Linked DNA regions of Homo sapiens: region 1 is linked to region 2. Evidence: promoter capture Hi-C in 16 types of primary human blood cells and fetal thymus (Javierre and others, 2016). All regions are on one chromosome and are shown on one strand. Each heading gives the region's core, a stretch centred on a gene start or on the middle of the fragment in contact. The rest is flanking DNA. Distances are from core to core; before and after follow the strand shown. Region 1 has its middle 57 kb from the start of ARHGEF3-AS1. Region 2 holds the start of APPL1 (adaptor protein, phosphotyrosine interacting with PH domain and leucine zipper 1).

Evidence for each region. Contacts are between HindIII fragments. The CHiCAGO score rates a contact against its expected background, and 5 or more counts as called.
Region 1: a fragment that was not itself captured here is called in contact with the fragment with the promoter of APPL1 in region 2 in 2 of 17 cell types (M0 macrophages and endothelial precursors); the score reaches 5.6 in M0 macrophages.

The regions. Positions count from the first base shown.
Region 1 is chr3:56,994,935-56,999,196 of GRCh38, forward strand. It overlaps a transcript of ARHGEF3 not described here. Among named protein-coding and RNA genes, the nearest start is that of ARHGEF3-AS1, 57 kb to the left of the region's middle. The HindIII fragment of the contact is 474 bases long and covers 1,378-1,851 here.
Region 2 is chr3:57,226,419-57,231,047 of GRCh38, forward strand. APPL1 (adaptor protein, phosphotyrosine interacting with PH domain and leucine zipper 1) reads left to right here and starts at 1,311. Exons shown (of 22, transcript NM_012096.3): 1 at 1,311-1,519. The coding sequence starts at 1,466. It also overlaps a transcript of HESX1 not described here. RefSeq lists a silencer at 1,109-1,768. The HindIII fragment of the contact is 8,451 bases long and covers 1-4,629 here.

The DNA.
Region 1 (4,262 bases), core at 365-2,864, 230 kb before region 2:
TTAAAAGTGTGGCACGTCCCCCCTCACTCTCATTCTCTCCTGACCCCATGTAAGATGTGCCATGCCTCCTCTTTGCCTTCTGCCATGATTCTAAGTTTCCTGAGGCCTCAGGAGACTGGGCCTCAGTTCTCCTCTGGGGAACTGTTCATCAATTAAATCTCTTTTCTTTATAAATTACCCAGTCTCAGGTAGTTCTTTAATAGCAGTGTGAAAATGGACTAATACAATGGCTGGGGCACAGAGCACCAATTTTCAACTCTTTGTAAAGCAATTTATGCTCAAGGATCATAATTTTCCTCTGTGCTATGAGCTGAGGCCGGCGTCTGGGGGGTGGAGTTCAGTGAAGAGGCATCTTGTCCTTCTCAGGAATTAGGACTTTGACAACTGTCCTTTACCAAGCTCGTCCTCTGATGACTCTGATTTGTTGTATCAAAGAGTAATGTGAAATGCTAAAAAAAAGATATAAAATCTTCCAGACAGAATTCATTTTAACTTTGTTTATATGCCTTGCTGCTTCTTTAGGAATGGACTGAATGGCCATGATAAGATCAGGCAGTGAGGATCTTTGTGGCACCCAGCAAACAGGAGACATGCAATCATCATTTTTTCAATCAATCCCAAAGTGACTGGACTCAAAGAGGTATTCAAAAGTCTGACACTAGGGGGCAAAAGAGAGTAAATTTTCCGAGAGAGAGAGAGAGAGAGAGAGAGAGAGAGAGAGAGAGAGAGAGAGAGAGAATTTTTTTTAACCTGGTCTCAATTTGAGACCCCAGTAGAGAGAAACCTAAAAAATGTAAGTTGAATAGAGAGGAAACTAAAAAATATAAGTTGAAGCTAAAATTGGACATTTGAAGATTTTCTGGCAAAATTTTGATGACAAATTCAAGGCTGCCCTAAAAGTCTGAGGACTCCTTTAGTCTAGTTAGTGAGAACCTCTGTTTAAAATGGAAATAGGCTACCAGGACCGGATAACATATTAATTCCCATCAACCATTAACTCCCACCTGTGATGAGAAGTAATTCATCAGCTGAGTTATCAAAGAGCAAGGCCCTGGGGGATTGGAACACAAGGTTGGGAGCTTTCAATTGAAAGAAGGAAAAAAACACAGGTGACAGTGCCCTCCAAGCACAGCCCCCATGAGATTGCCTTTAATCCCCATCATCATCCCTTATTCTCATTTTGTAGACCTAGAGACTGGGACTCACCAACTGAAACACAGTCTTAATGACTGGCATCACCATCTGCCCCCATTTCCACTGTGGAACCCAGGGGGTCTGCTGAGCCACCCTCCCTCATTTCTGCATCCACTCTGCTTCAAACCCCCTCCTCTCCTGTCTATTCCCTATCTTAGCTCTCCCTGCACACTGCAAACGAGAAGCTTCTAAATCTCAAATATAGTTATTCCTTCCTCATCCCATTTCAAACCCTTGAAATTGCTATGGTCTGAATGTTTGTGTCTCACCAAAATTCATGGGTTGAAACCTAATCCCCCATGTGATGGTATGAGGAGGTAGGGCCTCTGGAAGGTGATTAAATGAATGGGATTAGTGCATTAATAAAAGGCCCCAGAGAGCTTCTTTCCTTTCCATCTCATGAGGACACAGTGAGAAGGCACCATCTATGAACGAGGAAATGGGCCCTCACAAGATGCTGAATCTGCTGGCACCTTGACCTTGGACTTCTCAGCCTCCAGAACTGTGAGAAATCAATAAATTTCTGTTGTTTATAAGCCACTCTCTTTATGATGTATTGCTACAGCAGCTCAAATGGACTAAGACAGCAAGGCCCCGTATCTCTTACAGAATAAAATCCAAGATAAAAAAGCACAGCTATGCAGACCCTATAGCCCAAGCTTGTGCAACCTGTGGCCCGCAGGCGGGCCCAGTACAGCTTTGAACGTGGCCCAACACAAATTCGGAAACTTTCTTAAAACATTATTATTATTATTATTATTATTTTTTTTTTTTTTTGCAATTTGCTTATTTGCTCATCAGCTGTCATTAGTGTTACTGTATTTTATGTGTGGCCCAAGACAATTATTCTTCTTCCAATGTGGCTCAGGGAAGCCAAAAGATTGAACACCCCTGCTCTAGCCATTACAACCCTCCCCACCTCACCTACCCCTCAACTCATTTCCTGGGATCCCTACCCCAGCATCCCCACACAGGGCCTCCAGCCCTGCAGAAGCACTTGCCACCAAACAGCACTGAGGCCTGCGATGCTTGGTTTCCACTGAGCAGCTCAGCCTCTGATGACCCAGCCCCAGGGCCATCTTCTCTGACAAGTCTTTCTGACCCTCATGACCTCCCTCAGGATGGACCACTCCCCCGGAGCCCCCAACTCTCAATTCAGACTTCTAGCCTGTCCACTCACATGCCCTGTGGGGAGGTCCTGCAGAGCAGGGTCCACATTTGGTCACTTCTGCCCAGTCCATGGCCTGGAAGACAGTCGGGCCCAGGGATCAGGTGGAGGGCTCTTGGTTCTTGGAAGGGGCTGGTATCAAGAGGAAGATGGCTAAGGGTGGGCAGAAAGAGATGCCAAAAGCAAACTCTGCCCCCCTAAGAGCTTAGCAGCAGGCTTGCCTGAGCAAGAAGGCCTGGGCAAAAGTGGGGTCTGGCAGCCTCTCCATAAACAGGGCTGACTCCGCGCAGATCTACCCCGGGCAGGTTGTCACAGGAACTCAGAGGAGCTGTTTGTGGGGGCTTTTTCACATCCACGTATGCCTTTGCCCTGATCAACAGAGAGACAGCCTGCGAGTACAATGAGAGGCCCCCAGTAGGAGATGACGAAGGGTAAATGATCCAAACACCTGCTCTGCACCCCTTACTTCACTGCCCTGTCATTCCCCTGTATTATCAGGAAAACTGAAAGATTTTCTATTTTCACTCCTCCAGGGCCTCCACATTCCAATTCTAGAATTCCTGGAAGATGCTTCAGCAAGAACTCATAAAACTTTCACAATTCCAAAGTCACACTTCTCATGAACGTGTGTACAGTTGAAGGCAACGTCACATGCAAGCTCTTCTGGCCTCTGTTTCCTCATCTGCAAAATGAGGCGGACAAGACTTAATTAACTTTGATGTCCTGCAACTACAAGGTATAATGTACAGTTGGGTTTTTAAGGTTCTCAAAGTTATTTATGCAAACACTGAATCAGTAACATCGCAAACTGCTGCTCGCTTCCCAGTGCCAAATTTTTACAGTCAGCCAAGGCTTCCTGCATAGAGACAATTGAAAAACAATCACTCTTTTATTCAATCCACACAAACACACAAAAGAAAATGGTCCAAACTCTCTCTGCACACACACAAAAAAACTAACCAGGGAAATCAAACAGAAAGAGGCCCTCCACTCACTCATTTGGCAAAGCTATTACTTGGTATCAGATACTGTTGAATATTTACAAAGATTAACACTCATTAAATAGGACCAGGAAGGTGGCTTGGCTCCTTCTCTTCCCGGTCATCCTGACTTTTTTTTTTTTTTTCCTTCCCTGCAGCCAAGAGCAACACTGGCTGGACCTTGGTTCACTTCCCTACTTTCCTTGCTATGGGGACCCCAGGCACAATGACTGAGTCCAGAAACATGAATGGTGCTATGAGCTCCTTCATGACCTCAGCAGTCATCTGGGGGTGCCACAGCTGAGCCCTCAGCCCGAGCCCTCCTGCCCAGGGACTTCACAGACCACTCCTCAAACTGCCTTCCCAAACACCACAGAAAGCCAAGTGGCCATTTGGGTTTTCTTGGTTTGACTTTTAATGCAAGCTGTCTCAAGAAATGATAGATTCAAACACAGCTGTCCTTCCTCCTTTCCCCCTACTGTGGAATTGGCCATTTCAGGATCCAAAGGAAGGTATGTCCACATGTTTATGCCCACAGGCACACAGAGTCCTAACCTCAGCAGATACCCTGAAGCAGATCCCATGTCCACCTTTAAGCACGTTTTGCTGTTCTGGGCCCTCACAGTGTTTTATGTACACTCCATATGAGAAGAACCCCATTGAACTTTATTATTACCAAGAAGTCATCAGGTTGAAATTCTTGATTATTCATGATGGGAGCTTGGCATTAGTTCAGCCAACAGATAAAGTAGTAAGAATTTTCAAGAGGTTTTTGTTGTTGTTGTTGTTTTGAGATAGAGTCTTGCTCTGTCGCTCACGCTGGAGTGCAGTGGTGTGATCTCGGCTCACTGCAACCTCTGCCTCCCGGGTTCAAGTGATTCTCTTGCCTCTCCTGCCTCAGCCTCCTGAGTAGCTGGGAC
Region 2 (4,629 bases), core at 61-2,560:
CCTCCAAATCAACTTCCTCAAAAACTAAAGAACTCTTCGGGAGAGAGAGACTGGCTGATAAACAATCTAAGGGGAAAACTTTTAAAGATTGTAACACTAAAAATAATTCCGTAAAACTACAATGCAAGTCTACTCAACAAAACTTTAAAAATATAATTTTATTTTTCTTTCAAGAGATCATGGGAAAATCTACTATTTTCGTTTAAAATATATAACTTCTATTTGTTACTATATTTGGATTTGAGCTACTACTATTCTGGATTTGTTCCCATGTATCTGTGGAACCAGGCAGCTAATTAATCTTTACTCAGCATCTCTGGTATTTCTTGAATGAAAATGGAATGGATTGGTGGAATTAATGGCTAGATGTTTAGAAGACACTACTTACTTTGTTATTTTCTCTGTATAATGATGAAAGCCTACAACTATACAGAGACATAAACGAGCCAGGGTGACAGGTTGGGAAAGATGAAGAGGGAGGAGGAAAGGATAGGCTTGTAGCCCTCATCCGGTCAAATTCCCAACTTTGAGCTTCACTTTATTGTAAAATTAGAGGCTAAAACTATTTAACGCTTCCAAAACTTTTTGATTCAACAAATGCCAATTAGTTACTAACATAATTAATCAGTGTATCCTGATTTTTAAAAGATATTTTCCTTTGTGATTTAAAAGAAACATGGGAGTTGGAGTTGCAGCGTCAGTCCTGAAGGACTGACCTCGGGAGGCCAGGTAGGAACTGATAAACTGGCAACAAAATCACATGTTTTCAACTGAATATACTGATATTCAAGCGTCCAGAAAAACAATTTCGAGCCTACGTTCACAAGTTTGCCAGAAAGCCCTATTATTGACACAGCTGCGGATCTCAGACATCTGAGTTAGTCAGCACCATTCTGCTGGAGGGGATTAAGACTGGACGCTTCGAGCGGAGTTGGGAATGTTATCATCTGAGGAAACTAAAAGGCGCCAGCAGTAGGACTTTCTCCAAGGTCTCTGACAAAATATGTTGCGGGAAAAGTCAACCCGCCCCAAATTCCCCCGTGTGGCCCTAACTCGAGGCTCTGGCTCCTCGCGCCGGCAAGCTGAGGAAGAGACGGTCCCCTGCGATTTAGATACAAACGCGCGCGTGCAGGGAAGGCCATCCCAGGGCAGACACTGCCACCTCCGCCGCTTCCGACGCCCGCGCTCGCGGGAGAGCCTAGCGCCGCACGGGAACCTCCCGACCACCGCCGCAGCGCGGATGGGCGTCCCCGGGAGCCAATGGACGCGCCGGGAGGCGGGGCAGGGAGGCCGAGGGGGCGGGATTTCCCGCACGGCCGCTCGGCGCCTGGAGAAGGCTGTGCGGGCGGGGACGGCTGCAGCCCTTGCCGGAGAGGGCGGGCCGGGGTCAGCTGCGGCGGGCGGGCCGGCGCGGGGAGCTGTGGGCGGCAGCTGCGTCTCCTGCCACCGCCCTCCCTCCGCCACGATGCCGGGGATCGACAAGCTGCCCATCGAGGAGACGCTGGAGGACAGCCCGCAGGTGAGGCGCGGGAGCTGGTGGGCGACGAGGGAGAGCCCAGCTGGCCGACCCCAGGTCTGGCGCCTCCGCGGCTCCCGCAGGTGCCCGCCCCGGCCCAGGTGGGGGCCGCCGCCGCCCTAGGTCACCGCCCGTCGCAGGCCGCGCCCGGAGTTGTGGAGGCTGGGCCCGCCGCCCAAGGCCCGCGTGGGCCTGCTCGGCTGGGCCGAGGGCCGCAGGCGGAGACCGAGCCGCTGGTGCTCGTGGGCCGGGCGGTCACGTACGCGCGCGGGTCCTTTTTATTTGACGAAAGGCGCCGTTTTTATCGCGGTGATGTGAGGTGCCAAATCTCGATCCTGGAATTTTCTCCCTGAGAACCTCTTCAGAAAAATTGCAGAAGGGAGAGAAACCCCGATAGTCTTATTTAATGATTTCCGAGGCTCAGCAAGCTAAGGAAGGAAATGGATCGTTTTTCTTTGGGAGAGGCTGTAAGGTTGTGTGTGGAGCCCTAATGGCAAAGCCCGTGACGGGTCCCGGAGCCCAAGACCGCTCTCCCCGCCGAATGTGCCCGTGTCGCGGCCGTGACTGTGGTCGCTGTCACTCGAGCTGTGCACGGCGAGGGATGGACGGTGCCTTCGCCGCTCCGCGACTGCTGCGCTGCTCCCTGCAGACTTGGCCTTAATAAACTCATCAAAATAAAAGCCCTGTGTTCTGTGCGTCGGAATGATGCTGATGTGGTTGCTCTAGCTTAAGACAGTTTTGGAAAATGTAACCATTTAATATGTTTTCAGTACTGCAGAATGAAAGCAGCTATATTTTTTAAAATGTTGGCAGGGGCTGTAACTTGCATAGGGAAAACTTCATCTCTAAGCCGTTTTACACGATAATTTAAACGGTTTAAGACGGTGTTGCTGGTTGGACACTATTTAGAATGAAACATTTCTGAATTGTTGCTGATTTAGAAATGCAGTTGCACCATTTCGTGTGTCTTTACAGTTGAACATGGCCCCCAAAGAAGAAAAGCAGAAGAGGTCTAGATCTCCTTTTCCTGGATGGCACTTCTGCCATGGATTTTGTGCCAATGTTAATTGCCAAGTTGAAATGGGGCTCTGATTGTAGAATTGATTTGTTCTTTTTTATTCTGAAAGTTATCTTCACAGGCCAGTTGCCTGCTGCTAATGTACTCTTAACAGCTGATAGTGACAAAAAGAGAAACTCACATTTGGTTTATCTTGACTGCCAGTATACTCGGTTCAATTTTTTTCTTGATGATTTCTCCATATAAAGTTATAAACTGTATTTGTTTCAGATGATTTGCAAAAAGTTTGTGGAATTGGTCAGGTGTACTTTGTCATTTTACTTTTTATTATGTAAGATTCAACAGGTTGCCTTACCTTTCTTCTCTTACTTGGCTTTTTTTTTTAATAGCCCATAAAGACTATAAACGGCTCAGAATGGATTGCACACTGCCCTGGAAATGACTTGTGAGGCAGAGATAAACTCTTGACTCATCTAATGTCTTGAGGTTTTTGCCAGATTAGTTTACAACTTAAGAATTGTGGTTTTTTTTTTTCTTTACAAGCATGCATCATACTAGTGTCCGTTTTACAATATATTTGTTTGTTTTTTGAGATGGGGATCTTGCTATGTTTCCCAGTCTGGAGAGCAATGGCTGTTCACAGACACTATCGTAGTGCACTGTGTCCTGGAACACCTATGCTGAAGTGATCCTCCTGCCTCAGCCTCCCTAGCAGCTGGGAATACAGGCGTGTGCCACTGTGCCAGCTTTTTTTTTTTTTTTTTTTTTTTTTTTTCCTGAGACGGGGTTTTGCTCTTGTTGCCCAGGCTGGAGTGCAATGTTGCAATCTTGGCTCACTGCAACCTCTGCCTCCCGGGTTCAAGTGATTCTCATGCCTCAGCCTCCTGAGTAGCTGGGATTACAGACGTGTGCCACCACGCCCACCTAGTTTTTGTACTTTTTGTAGAGACGGGGTTTTGCCATGTTGGCCAGGCTGGTCTCGAACTCCTGACCTCAGGTGATCTGCCCGCCTTGGCCTCTCAAAGTGCTGGGATTACAGGTGTGAGCCACTGCGCCTGGCCTGTGCCAGCTAATTTTTAATGAAGTAGACACATTGATATCCCTTCAATGTTGAAAGGCAATAAATTTGAACTAGGTAAAATTTACTTGGGAAAATTAATTGGTACAACTGGGATTTAGGAAGTGTACATACTTGGAGGTGATTCTTAGGTCGAACCTGTGGCAGAATGCAAAGCCTTGGATCTAGGGTTGACGAGGTTTTTAGTCATCACTGCCACTTTACTACCTTCTGCTTTAGGGCAAATCATTCAACTTCTCTGAACCTCAGCTGTTGTGTCTTAATGACATGTTTTTATTTTTGACCCTGATTAAAAAGAAATAATAGTTGCTTCCTTCAGAAAAATTGGAAGGTCCAGAAAAGAATAACACACAATTACCTGTTGGTTACCCAGCAAAACCTTATTAACAGTTTGCTTTCTTTATTCTACTGTTTTTTTTTTCTTCTACATGTTTTAATGGAATTGAGATTATATTGTGCATAATGATCTTTATCCTGCTTTTAACTTAACATTATCACTTAAGTATCTTCACATGTTTTTACATTCCAAATAAAAACATTTGAAGACCACACATTTCCTTAACTGATTTCACAACCCTTTGCTGGACTTTTAGAGTTTTCCCAAAGTTTTGCTTTTATAAATAGGGCTGAGATTAATGCTTTGGAGCATAAATTTTCTTCTCAGTTTGAACTATTTTATCTAGAATAGAGTCCAAGAAGCAGAGCAGCAAAGAATATGAAGACTTTTAAAGCTCATGGTAAGTTTTTTGTTTTTTTTTTGAGACAGAGTCTCACTGTCACGTAGGTTGGATTGCAGTGGCACAGCCATAGCTCTGAAACCTCAAACTCCTGGGCACACGCCACCAAGCTCAGCTAATTTTATTTTATTTTATTTTTATTTTTTGGAGATGGAGTTTCGCTCTTGTCGCCTAGGCTAGAGTGCAGTGGCATGATCTTGGCTCACTGCAACCTCCACCTCCCGGGTTCAAGTGATTCTGCTTCCTCAGCCTCCCAAGTAGCCCAACTAATCTAAAAATT